Regions from separate parts of the Homo sapiens genome. Here all the other regions are linked to region 2. Evidence: promoter capture Hi-C in human tissues and cell types (Jung and others, 2019). All regions are on one chromosome and are shown on one strand. Each heading gives the region's core, a stretch centred on a gene start or on the middle of the fragment in contact. The rest is flanking DNA. Distances are from core to core; before and after follow the strand shown.

Region 1 (2,700 bases), core at 111-2,610, 830 kb after region 2:
TTTAGTAGAGACGGGGGTTTCACCGTGTTAGCCAGGATGGTCTCGGTCTCCTGACCTCGTGATCCGCCTGTCTCGGCCTCCCAAAGTGCTGGGATTACAGGCGTGAGCCACAGCGCCCGGCAAGAATCTGATTTTTGATAGTTTTTTTGTAAAATTATTTTTCCTCTTAGGAAGCTTGCATGATTTTCTATCAAGCCTCAGTATTGTGAAATTCCACTATGTTGTGTCTTCAAGCTGATCTATTTTCATGCATTTTGCTGAAGTTCTTTCCCACTGCAAGATTACAGACAGATTAACTTAAGTGTTCTCCAGTACTTTTTAGTGTTTTTCTCCACCTTCCCTTTTCTTTTTTATAGTTGAGTCTAAAATACTAACTTTTTTGGTAAGTTGTGTAGGCGTGAGGGAATTCCATTAATTTTTTCACACAGGTAAATAGTTATGTTACTATACTTTACTGAACAGTCTTTTTTTTTTTTTTTCCATGCTGTGAAATGCCACCCATGTCCTACATTTACATCTATTATATCAGGGTTTCTGGTAATTCAAATATTTATAGCTAATTTTACTTCTTTTTTCATAACATCTCAAATTAGAAAAATGCACTTGAAATTAGAATAGTTGTTTGCAAACAGTAACTCTGTAGCTAAAATGTTGCTTCTCACTTGTATTGCTATTACACAATTTTAAATATTTTAAATGACTTTGTCAAACACAAAACATCAATTTTCTTGTAGAAAAAAAAAATGATTCTTACCCATTGCAGGGGTGGCAAGGGTTTGGCGGCCAACAAGCTGGGCTGGTCCCAATCCATCAAGAAAATCACTGAATTGACTGTCAGCTCCCAGTCGCACTCCAGGAAATATTAAACTATCAGCAAAAGGATAAAAACCAAAGGAAAAAACCCATGAAATCTTCTAGAATTCTTTTCACTAGTTTCCACTTGACTAATTATGATCATGAAACATAAATATTACTTAGACAATCTGTTTTTTTAATTGATTCTTTGCATTGCCTTTGAGCCAAGCATATGAGGCTTAACATTGACTGAGGAAAGGTGTAAACTCTCAATTTAACACCTAATGCTCTATTCAAGAGGGCTCAGTTATAGTTTTTAATATACCAAGTTCCAAATCCTTATATAAATGTGTTGCTGACAAAAAAACATAAGATGCGAATTTTTATATCATAAACTTCACACAGATACTTGCTCATGAACATTAGGTAACATTCATGCTAAATTTTTAAAGTGGCCAATAATTTCTTGAATAAATGTTATAACATAGTTCAAGTTCTTATTTATAAACATTTAATTGATTCAAAGATGAATTATTTGAGACTTTTATTTGGTTCCAATGGAAATTAATTGGTTAAAAAATCTGTATTTCTTCCTATAATACAACTTCCTGATAGCCCCAGGATGTAAGCTGCACAAGGGCAGTGCCTGTTCTCTTCTTGTTGACTGATGTAGTTATCACTGGGTAATGACAACTATGCTCATTATGTGATAGGCATTCAATAAGCATTTTTTGAATGAGCATATTTCTATAGAGACTTACTCTTTCCATTGTGCTTTCACATCTATTATTTCTTTTAACCAAGGAAATTAAATGGGACACAGATTATAATCCCATCCAGAGACCATGAAAATAAATCCAAGAGATTAAATGGTTTATGATGGAGGCAAATTTTATTTGTTACTTTTTTATATCAGAAAATGATGTGTTCAAGTCTCATTTGTATATTACTTTATGCTACTTCATCAAATATGGGTATTTTGTCAGTAAGTTTATCTCTGTAACTTTCATACCTGCTGATTTTTGTTCTTATATTCCTTACTGGAAACATGCATAACAAGCCAATCATTTGACCAACTAAACAGAGACCAACTAGTTTCAGGAATGGGAAGGAATATCACAAACAGTAACTTGGCATAATTCTGTTAAATTTTCTAAACAATATAGAAAAATTCCAGTAAAGACAAGAAATTAGAAATATCAAATTGGTATATGAGTAATGTGAATGGTAATGAACAAATAATTATGGAAAATTTATATGTGGTGAATCTCCATGTAATCCAAAACAACACATTAATTACTTATTTGTAAGATCCACTACCTCAATAAAAATTCAATTTTACCAGAAATATTCTCAAGCATAGGAAGAAGCAGGTTTTGTGCAGGATCCATATGAAATGGTAAAAAAAAAAAAAAAAGAAAAAGAATCGAAAAGAGTAAATTTTTAAAAATCGTATTCTATTTTTTCAGAATTAACTAAAACATTTTAGTCAGAAAAATAATGAAGCTGATAGACCCTGGATTATTTCCTAAGGTAAAAATGAGTCAGCAATGTTTTAAAAACAAGAAAATGTAACTTACATATATGACAGTGTTAGACTTAGAAAAGCTTAGGGTCCAAAATAGCTTGGAGAAAATTAAGAAAATGGGAAATCAGTTCCTTACTTATAAATTTTAACTTGGACTTTGGTGACAGGGACAGACTATGAGTTTCCCATATGAAAGAGTCCATTACCTGTGGCATTTGTACACTAAACATCCAGTAAGGAACTAGTCTGGGCTTTCCTAGATGCAAGAAATCAATTTGTTCATGTGGACTCAGAATTTCTTCACCCTTTGAAAGGTATGAATGACCAGGTGTAGAGGTGTGTCCATGTGTACTTACTTATAAGCCATCAGGGTGGTT
Region 2 (2,700 bases), core at 178-2,677:
GGCATTACAGGCGCCCGCAACCACGCCCAGGTAATTTGTGTATCTTTAGTAGAGACGAGGTTTCACCATGTTGGCCAGGCTGGCGGTGAACTGCTGACCTCAGGTGGTCCACGTGCCTCGGCCTCCCAAAGGGCTGGGATTACAGGCGTGAGCCACAGCGCCTGGCCTCCTGTTCAGTCTTAAATGCTACTGTGCAGTCATTATATTTTCACTTGTATATTTTGTACTAAATGTATATGAGAGACCAAATGTATGTGGATGCAGAGAATGTTCTCCCGATAACCTTGTGATCTGTGGACTCAGACAGTGGTGTAGATCTGAACCTCACAGATGAAAGTCCTGATGGCTGACTTTGTCTTTGGTCAAAAGAGGAGGATGAAAAGTGAAAAATCACCCAGGAACTTGCAGTGGGAAGCTGACAGGCCAAGCTGAATCTTCCCTACCACACACAAACATCTCCTGCAAAATTTTTTTTTTTTTTGAGACGGGGTCTCGCTCTGTCACTCAGGCTGGAGTGCAGTGGTGCGATCTCGGCTCACTGCAACCTCTGCCTCCCGGCTTCAAGCGATTCTCCTGCTGCAGCCTCCTGAGTAACTGGAATTACAGGTGTGCACCACCACACTCCGGCTAATGTATTTGTATTTTTAGTAGAGACAGGGTTTCAGCATGTTGGTCAGGCTGGTCTTGAACTCCTGCCCTCCTGATCCGCCCACCTCAGCCTCCCAAAGTGCTGGGATTACAGGCATGAGCCACTGCACCCGGCCGAAGAATATTTTAAGCAGTCAAGTTTGCTCAGTGATTGTCATGCAACAAGATATAGAAAGTCTATTCTGTAACTATATTTGAAACCAGAGAGAGATAACATTCTGCAGTGAAGACCACATTAGTCTCTCAACTTCCTAGATAAATTTACCAGAATAATCATCAAATTGCACCATTTTAGAGAACTGGCTCCTACTCCTTAAACACGCCTTGGACTGCCCTAGTCAACTCCTACAATGGGCTCCCTATGACACTATCCTATCAAGTTTATTTTCCTCTATTGTTTGCTCTCCCTTGACGCAACACACCAAATAAACCAAGTCGTGTTGGAATACACTGTGTGGTCACTGGGTGGCTGCCGACACCTGTGCAAATCTAGGGAGCCCATTTGGAGCCTTCCTGCACCTCCATACCCTCAACCCCCTGCTCCAAAATTCTTTGAATTTAGAGTGAAGAAAAATTTCTGATTCCAGGACATCAGAAAGCCAAGCACTTATCAGATGATTAAGTTTGACTTGAAAGAATTAAGCTCAGAGCAGATAATTACTTGGAATGAATTATCTTGGGAAGACCTCCGGGGATTGGACATCCACCCTAAGGTGGATCAAGGGGCGGGTTGTTTGGATTCCAACAACCCTTATTAAGGACAACCCTTTTTAAGGACAGAGCCTAGGCCCTTCCTCGCTTTTCCAAGTCTTTTGCCAACCAGTTTGTTAGACTTTCCCCTATTCTGAATCAGGTGGGAGCACAGCATGGCCGTGGGAACGAGTGCTCTCAGCAAGGAGCCGTGGTGGACCCTGCCCGAAAACTTTCATTCTCCAATGGTGTTCCACATGGAAGAGGACCAGGAGGAGCTCATCTTCGGTGAGTGGCCTTTGCCCACGTCCCCTCCTTCATCTGTTTTTTATTTTTATTTTTTTGAGACAGATTCTCGCTCGTGATCTTGGCTCACTGCAACGTCTGCCTTTTGGGTTCAAGTGATTCTCCTGCTTCAGCCTGCAGAGTACCTGGGATTACAGGCGCCTGCCACCACGCCTAACTAGTTTTTGTACTTTTTTTTTTTTTTTTTTTGAGACTCGAGACGGAGTCTTGCTCTGCCGCCCAGGCTGGAGTGCAGTGGCGCGATCTCGGCTCACTGCAAGCTCTGCCTCCCGGGTTCACGCCATTCTCTCACCTCAGCCTCCAGAACAGCTGGGACTACAGGCGCCCGCCATCACGCCCGGCTAATTTTTTTTGTATTTTTAGTAGAGATGGGGTTTCACCGTGTTAGCCAGGATGGTCTCGATTTCCTCACCTCCTGATCTGCCGGCCTCGGCCTCCCAAACTGCTGGGAATACAAGTGTGAGCCACTGCGCCCGGCCTCGTGTTTTTTTTTTTTTTTTTTTTTTTGATATGGAATCTCTGTCGCCCAGGCTGGAGTGCAGTGGCGCGATCTCGGCTCACTGCAAGCTCCGCCTCCCGGGTTCACGCCATTCTCCTGCCGCAGCCTCCCGAGGAGCTGGGACTACAGGCGCCTGCCACCACGCCCGGCTAATTTTTTGTATTTTTAGTAGAGACGGGGTTTCACCATGTTAGCCAGGCGTGTGTGGAACTCCTGACCTCAACTGATCTACCTGCCTCGGCCTCCCAAATTGCTGGGATTACAGGCATGAGTCACTGCGCTAGGCCGGCCTCCTTCATCCCCTTCTCGATTTTCAATCTTCCCCTCTCCTCCCACCTTCATGAGTCACACATCCCTACCCTCAAGGCCACCTCCTCACTCCCCAAGGACTGGTGGCTGACAGTTTCTCTTCTCACTTCTTGTGCTTACAGGACTTGATGACACGTACCTTCGCTGCATTGAGCTGCACAGCCACACCCTTATTCAGCTGGAGAGGTGTTTCACAGCTACAGGCCAGACACGTGTGACTGTAGTCGGACCACCAATGGCAAAGCAGT
Region 3 (2,700 bases), core at 201-2,700, 620 kb after region 2:
GCTGTTGAATTTTAGAGTTTGAATGGAGTTTAAATTTCTTTCAACCAATGCAGAAATTCTAAAATAGTTCCAAGTTTTAAATTTTAACTCTTGATGGAAAAAAAAAGTCAATATACACTCTCCTACATGCTTTTCTGAAGAACTGCATTTAATCCTGCCACAACTATATGACATGGGCATTACTACTCTCCCCATTTTTAAGATGTGGAGATAAGCTCAGAAACATTAAGAGATTGCTCAGTATCACACAAGCAGTAACCAAAAAGTGGGGATATGAACAGGATATGAAAAATCGCTGACTCCAGAAACTGTGATCTTAACCACAAAACCATATATCTCTCCAAATTAGAAAATGCTTTTAGGAATAGAGGGTTGTCTATTTAGAAATTTTATTAACAGCCACATATAAGAGAAGAAGATATATCTGCAAAGGCCCATAAACACTGATCATTCTGGCTTCAAACACAGGAGAGAAGAACAGAGTCACTTCCCTAACTGAACCTGGTATTTCTAGGTGTACAGATACCCCTTTCCTGGAGATTCTGAATCCTAACATTACAATTGTATCTTAAGAATGTGGGCCGGGTGCGGTGGCTCACGCCTGTAATCCCAGCACTTTGGGAGGCCAAGGCGGGCGGATCACGAGGTCAGGAGATCGAGACCATCCTGGCTAACACTGTGAAAGCCCGTCTCTACTAAATAGAGAAAAGAATTAACCGGGCGTAGTGGTGGGCGCCTGTAGTCCTGGCTACTCGGAAGGCTGAGGCAGGAGAATGGCGTGAACCCGGGAGGCGGAGCTTGCAGTGAGCCGAGATTGCGCCACTGCACTCCAGCCTGGGAGACAGCGAGACTCCGTCTCAAAAAAAAAAAAAAAAAAAAAAAAAGAATGTGTTCAGCTGCTAATAGAGACCCCCTCCCCAAAACACTGGTTTAAGTAAGGCCTATTTGTTTCAAGCAGAGAAGACTTGAGTCAAGAGTCAGGCAGGCAAGCCTCCACAAGGACGTAAGGCCTAACTTTTTCCATTTGCCACTTTCACCTGCTTAGCATGTGTCATTCATCCTTACGGTCACAACAGTGGCAGCTATGTTTCCAAACATTATGTATGAAATTCCAGGTGAGAATAAGGGAAAAGCTCAAGGGAAAAATGGACTTTGCTTGTTATTCAGAAAGGGTGTCCTCCTGATGAATCTCTACCTGCAGCTTATTGGCCAGAACCATCTCATGACCAACCACAACTGCAAGTAAGGTAAGGAAAGTGAACTATTTTAGTTGAATATATTGGAAATAATTGAGAACCATGTAAACAAATGGGGAACAGACAGACAACCAGCAACGTCTACCATAGGCCACCTCCTTGATTACCCAAGTGACATACCTTAAATTCACAGATACAGAAGGTTGAATGTAAAAGGATAGAAAAAGACATGGTCATGCCAGTATCAGACAACATAGATTTTAAGGCTGAAAGCATTACTAGAGATTAAAGAGGCATTTCATAATGATAGAAGTTTCAACTCACCAGGATAATACAGCAATTCTAAATTTGTATGGATGAAATAATATGGGTTCAAAATATATAAAGCATACACTGGACTACAAGAAGGATTTGACAAATTAACAATTACAGTGGAAGACTTAACATATCTTTCTTAGAAATAGAACAGTTGCTAATCATTAAGGTTTTCATCTCTTTCTTGTAGCAATTTCCTGAAAACAGAAAGTTAAGTCTACTACACACAAATATTCTGAAAATTTGGTAGCATTTGCTCTAACATTCCAACCTCAGCTGGCACATTGTCTATACCCCAGATCTAGCATGCAACTACCTGCCTATAGTGTCTATCAAGAGTCACTGGCTTCCCAGGCTGTAAATGACTGGGCCCTTTTTTCCTTGTAGTGCTCCTGGCATTGACTTTCGTTTTGGTTTTGGTTCTCAGATGAGAACAACAGTAGCTGGCTCTGATTAATTAAATTAAAAGGAGTTTATTTGGAGAGTATTGAGTTGCACACATTATTGAGGCAAGGGTTAGAGAACCAGGCCCAAAGCTAAGCATTTAGGAACAATGTACCAAACCATGCAAAAGTGGTCTGATAATATTGATGCCACAGTGAACATCCTATTTGCTGGAACTTTTCTTTATTGTACTGCAATTTCCAACAGCATGATATCTCCTTTAGCTAGTAGTTGGTCTTAAAACCAATACTGCTCCATAAAGCCAACCAAATGGAAGCTGAGTTTTTGCTACCTCCTAAGTTACTCATTTCCAATTCAAAGTCTTAAGTGGGACCATTCTATTTTTCCTGCCTTTATCTTGGTGCTCTGGCACTGTTAGAGCCTGGAATTACTCAAACAAAGCAAGAACACTCAAAAGCAACTGACAAGTCGGAAAACATGACCAATGTCCCCTACACATAGAAATATTCCTTATGCTTGTCCCCTTGAAAGAGTTCAAGTTCCACAGATTGTGATTTCGAGGTGTAAGGACAGAATCATATTCAATGTCATCAGTCTGTTGGAATTGTGACCACAAAGTTAGCATTTATATAAAAATTAATACACAGATTTAAAAATTACACCTTTTATTTCTGGGGCAATTACTTTTGGGCAATGTCAGAGTATGATTTGTTGCAAGCAACAAATAAGCAAGCAATCAACTACACAAGCCTCAAACAAATAAAAAGATTTAACAGGGAATTTG
Region 4 (2,700 bases), core at 44-2,543, 940 kb after region 2:
TAGCCGGGCGTATAGCACGCACCTGTAATCCAGCTACTCAGGAGGCTGAGGCAGGAGAATCACTTGAACCCAGGAGGCAGAGGCTGCAGTGAGCCAACATCGTGTGACCACACTCCAGCCTGGGTGACAGAGCAAGACTCCATCTCCAAAAAAAAAAAAAAAAGTTTGCAGAGCAAAAGTTTAATTCAAACTTATGTATGCCTGACCCTAAGTTTACCATCTTCAAGTATGTATCTAAACATTTACCACTAAGTTCAATCCATGCCTACTCTCCTTCATCTAAGACTAGAGTTTTGATTTACACTTAAGTAAAACATACTTCTCAATAAAAATTTGCGTCTTTAGTCAGACATTTTTGTTGCTGCAAATGGACTTGCAGTAAATTGCTTCTACCAAAGCCTAAAAACAATGTAGTTCTGTTGTTTTTGTTTTTAAACAACTTGTTAAAGAATGGACATGTATGTGGTATTTAAGGTCAAATTTTCAAAGTGGTTCCTACTGTGCTGGTCCGTTACAGGCCTGCACAGGCTCTTTTGCAATAACACACCATAAAATGCATATGTAAGCAATTCTAAATAGTAGTCCAAATAAAGAAATAAAGCATCCCCAAGTTAGAATGTAGAGTGTAGTTTCTACAGGAAGAAAAGTCACTAGAATGGAATGCAGAAATGATGGGCAGCAGTTCTCAAGGGTGAATTCACATGAAGATGAAAAGCTAGACTTTTATCTTATCAAGAAGCTTCCAAAGAAAATATGATACATTTCTTTAAGTGGCTTGACACAAAAAATATAAATCAGTTCTACTTGTCTCCTAATGACAACTGGTCATCATCTCTTTCAAAATATATTCTTAAAAGGCTATCTGTCATGAGGTTACATTTGTTGAGGGCAATAAAAGGCCTTTAAAATTATGATCATTAAACAGCAAATTTCGCCAGAAACCAGTGCAAAACTGTGTAGTATGACTCCTTTTGGGAAGTTATCAACTCTCAAAGGCCAGGAGTCAGTGTCCAAAGCATTTATACTGTGTCTTCGGTTCACGTGTAGCTAGATGTAAATTCAAGGTATCTTCTTAACAGCTCTTATTCAGAGCTAACATAAATTAGAAAACCCAGGCCAGTTCTTCTTTTGTAACCTGCTATTCAACAATTCACAAAGAAACTAGGCATGTAGTTTACACTCTAATAAAAATCAATGAAAAGCTTTAATTATAATCAAACACATCTAAAAGGTTACAGCTTTCTACTTTAAACTATAAGCAAAGGAAAGGCAAGAGTACTATGAATATGATTCATAAGTGTCATATATTTGAAAATGAAAGTCAATCAAATCCTTGCTATTCTGATTGGAGGATTTGTGTTTATCCACAGATTACATTTCAGAGTTGCAAAGGCAGATGCCTCAATATCATTAATCTGGAGTTAAGCACCTCCAGCTGACACTGGCATCATCTATCATTTTCTAAAATAGTATCTTATTGCCAAAAAAACTTGTTCACTGATGTATCCTTAATATATAACTACACACAGTAGTCACTCAACTAGCAATTTTTTTTTTTTTTTGAGATGGAGTTTTGCTCTTCTTGCCCAGGCTGGAGTGCAATGGCGCAATCTCGGCTCACCGCAACCTCCACCTCCTAGGTTCAAGCAATTCTCCTGCCTCAGCCTCCCGAGTAGCTGGGATTACAGGCATGTGCCACCAGGCCCAGCTACTTTTGTATTTTTAGTAGAGATGGGGTTTCTCCATGTTGGTCAGGTTAGTCTCAAACTCCCGACCTCAGATGATCTGCCCGCCTTGGCCTCCCAAAGTGCTGGTATTACAGGTGTGAGCCACCATGACCAGACTCAACTAGTATTTTTAAAAAATGAATGAAAGAATACTGAATAGAATTAAAAGAATACAACTTCAAGGAAAAGGTTTAATCATGTCAAAATAATTGAAATTGTGTAGAGGGGGCTGAAAATGATGGTTGAAGATTGAAAATTTATCTAAGAAATTATAGTTATTTACAATGATGGTAAAGAAACTGCAGTTAACTGAGCTGGGATTAAAGAATGTGAAAATACAAACATTGTTTCATCAAAGGCTATCTATCTATCGATTGATCAATTTCCTTCCTCAAAGTCCAACTCTTTGTACTACTCAACACTTTTCATGAGTCCCCTGTATCCTTATTCCATTGTGAATCAAGTTCCCTAAATAGTCAATTTCTCCATGGACCACTGTCCAGAAATAAATTTCATCTCCCTTTTACATACCACATCCCTTGATATGTCTCACACCTACTCATTTTTCAGATCTCAACTCAGTGTTAACATCCTCTGGAAAGCTTTTCTTTTTTGCTACTTGCTATTTTATTACTTGAACTTAGCACATAGTTGGTATATATCTGTTAACTGAATGAATCACTGAATTGTACAAATTCTATCTCTACTAGGCCTATTGAGATAGCCTGGCTGATGCCTTGCATCTACCCCTAGATCCTTTGATCTACCTTCCAAAAATCAGTCAAAGTGATCTATAATTTTGGAACTCAAAACTGATCCTCTGCCTCCCATGTTTAAAGCACATCTGTGGCTCACAGATCAATAAAGAAGTTGAAATTCTTTAGCATGGTATTAACATGGCATAGTGATGTCATTCATTTAACCTCTCAGAATTTCTCCAATTTTATTTTCAGGCCTCTTTTCTATCCACTGA

Evidence for each region. The method cuts DNA at HindIII sites, captures the fragments that hold promoters and counts their contacts. A contact is called where the count stands out against the background at its distance.
Region 1: a fragment that was not itself captured here is called in contact with the fragment with the promoter of KHDC1L in region 2 in 1 of the 25 tissues and cell types used here (dorsolateral prefrontal cortex).
Region 3: a contact is called between a fragment that was not itself captured here and the fragment with the promoter of KHDC1L in region 2, in 2 of the 25 tissues and cell types used here (dorsolateral prefrontal cortex and spleen).
Region 4: a fragment that was not itself captured here is called in contact with the fragment with the promoter of KHDC1L in region 2 in 2 of the 25 tissues and cell types used here (IMR-90 fibroblasts and lymphoblastoid cells).

The regions. Positions count from the first base shown.
Region 1 is chr6:72,390,865-72,393,564 of GRCh38, reverse strand. RIMS1 (regulating synaptic membrane exocytosis 1) reads right to left here. Exons shown (of 34, transcript NM_014989.7): 31 at 755-867. Among named protein-coding and RNA genes, the nearest start is that of KCNQ5, 230 kb to the left of the region's middle. RefSeq lists a silencer at 2,651-2,700. The HindIII fragment of the contact is 4,037 bases long and covers 1-2,700 here.
Region 2 is chr6:73,224,223-73,226,922 of GRCh38, reverse strand. KHDC1L (KH domain containing 1 like) reads left to right here and starts at 1,427. Exons shown (of 3, transcript NM_001126063.3): 1 at 1,427-1,626; 2 at 2,575-2,700. The coding sequence starts at 1,515. It overlaps LOC122539213 (KHDC1-KHDC1L), which reads left to right. Exons shown (of 7, transcript NR_173146.1): 5 at 1,502-1,626; 6 at 2,575-2,700. RefSeq lists enhancers at 2,343-2,637, 1,872-2,700. The HindIII fragment of the contact is 18,776 bases long and covers 1-2,700 here.
Region 3 is chr6:72,605,527-72,608,226 of GRCh38, reverse strand. No RefSeq gene overlaps it. Among named protein-coding and RNA genes, the nearest start is that of KCNQ5, 15 kb to the left of the region's middle. The HindIII fragment of the contact is 6,628 bases long and covers 1-2,700 here.
Region 4 is chr6:72,285,060-72,287,759 of GRCh38, reverse strand. All of the region lies in intron 24 of RIMS1 (regulating synaptic membrane exocytosis 1), which reads right to left. Among named protein-coding and RNA genes, the nearest start is that of KCNQ5, 340 kb to the left of the region's middle. The HindIII fragment of the contact is 4,356 bases long and covers 1-2,700 here.